Regions from separate parts of the Homo sapiens genome. Here region 1 is linked to region 2. The links are contacts of gene promoters, found by promoter capture Hi-C in blood cells and fetal thymus (Javierre and others, 2016). All regions are on one chromosome and are shown on one strand. Each heading gives the region's core, a stretch centred on a gene start or on the middle of the fragment in contact. The rest is flanking DNA. Distances are from core to core; before and after follow the strand shown. Region 1 overlaps DNAJC13 (DnaJ heat shock protein family (Hsp40) member C13). Region 2 holds the start of FAIM (Fas apoptotic inhibitory molecule).

Region 1 (3,278 bases), core at 96-2,595, 6.2 Mb after region 2:
TATTTAACATGTACAAAACAGTTCTTTTTAAGCTCCTATCTTTTTAAAAAATGTATAATGATGACTGCTCTTTCTCTTGGGAGTTTTTTTCATGGGCCTCATAATTTTTGGTTAAAAGCTGGACATGTTGTGTAGGAGTAGAGATTGAGGTAATTTTTATGACTGGAAATGAGCACGCCTGTTCTTTGTGAGGCCTTTGGTGAAGGGTTTGTGTTAATCTGGTTAGGAGTTGGACTTAGTTTATGATTTGTTTTTGCCATAGTTATCCTCAGTGTATTACAGCCTTCATGAATCTGCAGAACAGTTTGTCTCTCTGGTGGGCGATGGTTTACTAGAGCAATGCCTGTTTGATTCTTTGTGTTGTGCCTCTTTGCATAATCTTGTTCCTTTCCTAGTAGTATTTTGTGGGTTACTTGTTACTGAAAGCTTCTTAGCTTGGTGGCAGGGGGTTGGGGGTGGGGGATACAGTCTGATGTTCTGATTAAGTCTAAGTCAAACACTGTGTTCCTGAATCTCAGGAGGGCAGCACTCTCGGTTCTGTTGACCACTCCCGACTGCAGTTTTGGGCTCAGGGCCCCTCCTCCAGGCATAAGATTCTCTCCCACTTCTCATCTACCCCCTGAATGTTCACCAATGGGGCCAACAGAGATACCCTTCTCCCCAGAGATTAAAGCTTTTTTCCATAGAAGAGGCAGAGGGGAAGAATCACAGCAGTTTCTTGACCCTCTTAAAAGTTCTGTTGCTGTTCCTCTCCCTCTCAATCTGCACAGCAGACTCACCCAGGGTTCTTTCCAGTCTTTTCTAGTAGACCCAGGGAGGTTTGTGGATAAGAGTTTGCAAGATTGTGCATTCAGCTTTCATCATGCTTTTTGTCCAGTTGTGTCTGAAGACGGTAAACAGAAATTGACATCTACTCTCTGTAAGCACTGTCTCTCAAATTTTCAGCCAGTGGTTTTGCTCTGTGGACTCAGCTCTTTAATAGATTTCAAAAAAGTCATGAATTTGTAGTGTAGGTCTTTTTTTGTTGCAGAAGTGAGAGCAAAGCTTCTTTTTTTGTCTCAGGGCCAAAGCCAGAGGTAGTTACATTATTTATAAACTAAAGATAGCAAAGAAGGTGTTACTAATTATTTTTTATAAAAAGGGAGCCTTTATTGGGTCTAATAAAGTTGAGAAACACTGACTCAAGGAACTCTTTCAAAATATTAATAACTCCCCTTTAACTACTGCCATGTTTTACAGTGAACATTTAGGCCAAAACCTATTTGTAGCAACCAAATTTGTGCTGCAGTTTATCTGCACAGCCTTGTTTCAATTACTAATTTAAAGTACCTCAATCAGAAGCAGGGGAAAGGTATGTGTAGCAGAAACCTCATATTCACCTGTGTAAACAGAACTGGTTGAGGAATGAAGCCAAATTAGTTAAAACACATCTTTTCAATTTCAACCCTAATTTGGGACCTATTGAGAACCGGACTCCACTATCAACCTTTTAACAAATTTAATAAAGCCAGTATTGTTACAGTCCACCTGGGCAAGGCAACCATCTTCTATTTATTTGTGGATAAAGTTAAATTATTCCAAACAATTCATTCACTTATTAATATTTTATTTTTTAGCTTAAGTATTTTGTTTACAACTAAGCTTGTTAACAATATATAACATTAATATATTTTAGACTATTTATTACTACCACTTTAGAAAAAGAGGAATATTCATTGCCTCTCAGTGGAATACAAATGCTGATATTTTCCATGAACTGAACTCTAGCCTTAAGGTTCTTTACATTCTTATTTCTTAATAATCCTCTGACTCCTCTTTTCCTCCCTTAATATGTTCTACTTCCTGTTTTCAAACAAGGAGTATAATGTAATAATTTCTACACAAGGACGTGTGTTGCCTGAATGCATTGTGATACTAACAGCACAAGCCAAGTCTGAGATATAGTAGCTTAAAAAGCGTTTCACATTACACAAAATGTGAACAAGGTTTTACGTTATATGATAGATAAGCCAATAAAGTACTTTCCAAAAATCAAAGAACTGTGTTCTGGATACCGAATTTCTGACAAGTGGTTTCTATAAATTTATTTTTTTAAGGCAAATTCTGTTTCATACTCCCATAAACTCAAAGTACTGGTAATATATTATAAAACCTTATCACTGTAATTTTCCCTGCAGGCAGTAGTTTCAAACCTAGAAACCTATCAAGTCCATAAACTGAGAAAGAAAATATAGTAAGAAAGAATTACTGGGGGCAGGTTCTGAACTTCTACTTTTTTCCCCAAGACACTGTATTACAAAAGGCTCAACATAACTGTACACTATAAAGCCCTTCATAGAGGACGCAACAGCATCAGGTACAGAACCTCCTTTTTGAGGGAAATCAGAATAACGTAAAAGGGAAAAGCAGAGGGAAAATGAGAAATAATTACTTTGGGAGACCACCGCCACATTAGGGTGAAATCTTTACTTTTTTCCCCCCTCTAAGCAACGGACACAGGAAACAATCTTAAGACAAACGTGGTTAACGGAACACGCTACAAAAGGAGAAAATTTAAGGGAAGGCACTCTTAAACATAGTTAAGTATCAAGTGATTAACAGCCACTTCACTGAGCGTCTAAGTCCTACTTTACCCACTCCAAAGGCCACATTCAAAGATAAAATCACAGCAGCGGAGGAAAGGCCACGTGAATAAGCTGCCTTGCAGGAAGGAAAAGCCTTAGGGGAGAAAATGATTTTAGAAAAAGTACTGGAGAACAGACGACGCGGATGCTCATTTCCTAACAAAACGAAACAAAGCAAAGAAAGTCAGTCTGCAGGACTTGTTCGGAAGGAGGGTCGCTGACCCAAGGAAACAAGAGTTGCCGGCATCCAGCAGGAAGGGTGCTCAGACTAGGAGACTGGAAGGGAATCCCGAGGGCGGAACCCACAAGGGAATGAAGAGCCTGTGGGGTAAGGATATGTTAAGGCGAGTGGAGGAGCGTACTAGGTATAAAACAAGCAAAAAAAAGGGGTGGGGCTGGACAGGGCAGCGCCCTGAGCTAATGTCACTCAAAGCCGGGGGGGCGTCCAACGAAAGGAACCAGACCAGCAGCCTGGGGGAAGGGTAATCTGCTTCCTTAGCAGCTGCAGGCTGCAGCAGCCAAGACCACCCCGTTTTCCCTGCCCTGAGCCCCACAAAGTCCCCACGGCGTGGGAAGGGAGTAAGGCAGAGCCCCAGAGCCCAGTGCCCGGAGTCGGCTTTACCTTCGCGGGAGGCTGGAGAGGCTCCAGCCCTA
Region 2 (3,252 bases), core at 588-3,087:
CTGTCTGAAAAATAAAAAAATGAAACTTGGGAGCAAGAAATTAATCCACTGTTGTTTTTAAACTCTTATGCATGTACTTAATTTTCAAGATTCTATGACCAAACTGGAAAATGATAAATACAAAAAACCCTCTATTTTTGCAAATATTTTATTAAAATGTAAATTTAAAAAGATGAAAAACCATATTCCACTTACTTTCACTGATGGAGATGATACCAAGCACTTGAAACTTTTTACATGTCTTTAAAGAAAGCTTTTTGCGTATCTCATACGTACCCATCAATCTTTTAAAATCCCTTCCCTAGCAACCCAACACCTAAGTTTCAGAGCATGACTTAAACACCAACACGTTGCCACTGTTCATCTAATCCACCTGAATTTTGCCTTAACTTAGGTTTATTCTTACTGGGGACTGAAATGGTTCGTTCAAGATAAACCGAAGTCAGTTTAAAAATTACTAGATGATAGTAGTTACTAAGATGCTCATGGTTCCCTTTTCAGCAAAGGCCCCCAGGTAGGGCCAGCCAATAATGCAAGTCACACTCAAGTGTTGACATCTTCATCTCCGGGCCGGCCCCTTATGAAGTGAGGGGGGTCTCCAGTAAAATCACTCAGGAAGCTCCTCGAGCCAAGTATTCCCAAATGCTACTTACTGGAGGTACAAAAAGGAGAATAACTTTTCTGAGGGCCATTTCACAATCTATACCAGAAGCCTTGTGGTATAGACCGTGGATTCTATCTTGTTTTAGAACGAATCTTGTGCGATTCTTTCTACAGAAATGATCACGCTCAAAAACCCAGATACAACGATGCTCAATGAATTACTTTTTGCAATAACTAAAAACTGAAAACCACTTGTACGCTCACCATCAGGGAGAAACTACATTTAGTAAATCACAGTCCAAAGCCATGCCAAGAGTCAGGGATGGATGAGGTAGTCAACCTGACACACAGGAATGTACAGTCGAGAGAGAGAGAGAGAGAGAGAGAGAGTCGAGAGAGAGAGAGAGAGAGTCGAGAGAGAGAGAGTCGAGAGAGAGAGAGAGAGAGAGAGAGAGAGAGAGAGAGAGAGAGTTTCAGCACTTTATGATGCAGGTTCTGCAAAAACAAGCCCCGCTCATGTTACAAGGAAAAACCATCTGGAAGAATATACACCCTCATGTTAACGCAGCTTGTCTCTGGGGAGCAGCGGCACGGCTGCTTTGCTTGCTTCCTTGCTTTCTGTTCCACGTTTTCGACAGTGAGAAGTATTATCTTTAGAGGTCGCGAACAGGCCGGAGGAGGGTGCGGCAGGTCGCGGGGCAGGGCCTCGCTAGGCAGGGACGCCCCCGCACCGCCCCGGGCTGGCCCCGCGCCCCGCGCCCCGCCGCACCTCCACCTTTGCCGGCGGTGAGCGGGAGCCGCGTCCCGCCCCGAGGTCTGGGATCACCGGCGGGCCGGCTGGAAGCGTCCGGAACTCACCCAGCGTCTCACCCGCGCGGGTCTCACCGACCGCGCAAACACCGCCCGCCGCCGCCGCCCAGAGATGGCCGCCGCCGGCGCAGCAGGGCCGAGAGCGTGGGGACGCCGGGGGGCTGAGTGCAGGGGTTTCCAGGGTGCGGAGCGGGCGGGCCCGAGGCGTCCGGGCGGGCGCAGGCGCGACACCGACCCCACCCGGTCTGCTGCCTCACCTGTGCTCTGTGGGCCGCGGGAGGCTCTGGGGTAGGTTTCACCAAACAACCGGTTGGTTCCGACTCGGCTGCGTAGGCCGCGTGGCCTTGCTCCCCTGGCCGAGAAACAGGCGCAGCCGGCGCGGAGGTTGAAAGCTCTGCAGGCGCGAGTACCAAACGCGCCGACTGTTTGTCGCGCCTCTCAGGTCCCCTGGGGCGACCAGCGCAGGAGGCCACCCCTCCCGCCGCCACGGACCCAACCCTGGTCCTCTGCCTTAGCCGAAGGCCGCACCCTCCGCGCATAGGCCTTCCTCAGCCCCAACCCAGGACATCACCATGTCCCGCAGTGCGTCCAGTCTTCCTGCCAGCAAGTGTGGGTAGGAGCCGGCCGCTGGCCCCGCTCTGGGCTAGACGGTGGGGACATACTGGCGGGCAAAAACAGCCCTGTGCCTGCTCTGCAGCTATGGGGAAGGAATATCTGTTCATGGCAGCAATAGCATTCGCTCCTTAAAACCTCTTTATGAGTCTCATTCCTTTTTTAAAGACCCAAACTACTTAAGGTGGGCATGAAGCCCCCATGTGTGATCTAGCCTCTGCCTGCTTGGCTTCATTTAGGTCCTTAAAGGATGCAGGTTTCTTCTCGCCCAGGGCCTCTGCAAATGCTCTTCTCTCTGCCTGGACACTCCTCACCTCTTCCCTATTGTGAGAGTTCTTCATATATCATTTCTTAGATTACACTATCCTGGCCCATAAGACTTGCAGCATTGCTGGGTGTGGTGGCTCATACCTGTAATCACGGCATTTTGGGAGGCAGAGTGGCGGATCTCTTGAGTCCAGGAGTTCAAGACCAGCCTGGGCAACATGGTAAAAAAAAAAAAAAAGAGAGAGAGAGAATGAGAAAGAAGAAAAGAAAATAATTAGCGGCTCAGGCCTGTAATCCTAGCTACTTGGGACGCTGAGGTGGGAGAATTGCTTGGGCCCTGAAGGGAGGTAGAGGCTGCAGAGAGCTGTGATTGCACCACTACACTCCAGCCTGGGCAACAGAGCGAGACCCTGTTTCATTAAAAAAAACACACACAAAAAGAAACAGCCGGGCTCAGTGGCTCACGCCTGTAATCCCAGCACTTTGGGATGCTGAGGCAGGCATGGCAAAACCCCGTCACTACTGAAAATATAAAACTTAGAGGGGCGTGGTGGTGCATGCCTGTAGTCCCAACTACTTGGGAGGCTGAGGCAGGAGAATCGCTTCAACCTGGGAGGTGGAGGTTGGAGTGAGCTGAGATTGAGCCACTGCACTCCAGCCTGGGCGAAGAGCAAGACTCTGTCTCAAAAAAAAAAAAAAAAAAAAACAGCCGGGCACAGTGGCTTACACCTGTAATCCCAGCACTCTGGGAGGCCAGGTGCGGATTGCCTGAGGTCAGAAGTTTGAGACCAGCCTGGCCAACGTGGTGAAACCCTAGCTCTACTAAAAATACAAAAATTAGCCGGGCGTGGTGGCATGCGTCTGTAATCCCAGCTACTCAGGAGGCTGAGGCAGGAGAATCACTTGACCTTGGGAGGTGGCAGTTGCAGCGAACTGAGATCGCCTCACTGTACTGCAGCC

What was found. Contacts are between HindIII fragments. The CHiCAGO score rates a contact against its expected background, and 5 or more counts as called.
Region 1: a contact is called between a fragment that was not itself captured here and the fragment with the promoter of FAIM in region 2, in 1 of 17 cell types (naive CD8 T cells). The highest score is 5.7, in naive CD8 T cells.

Annotation. Positions count from the first base shown.
Region 1 is chr3:132,417,729-132,421,006 of GRCh38, reverse strand. It overlaps DNAJC13 (DnaJ heat shock protein family (Hsp40) member C13), which reads right to left. Exons shown (of 56, transcript NM_015268.4): 1 at 3,247-3,278. Among named protein-coding and RNA genes, the nearest start is that of DNAJC13, 1.9 kb to the right of the region's middle. RefSeq lists enhancers at 2,641-3,176, 3,116-3,265. The HindIII fragment of the contact is 597 bases long and covers 1,047-1,643 here.
Region 2 is chr3:138,607,356-138,610,607 of GRCh38, reverse strand. FAIM (Fas apoptotic inhibitory molecule) reads right to left here and starts at 1,837. Exons shown (of 6, transcript NM_001033031.2): 1 at 1,671-1,837. RefSeq lists an enhancer at 1,100-1,189 and a silencer at 1,290-1,749. The HindIII fragment of the contact is 4,797 bases long and covers 256-3,252 here.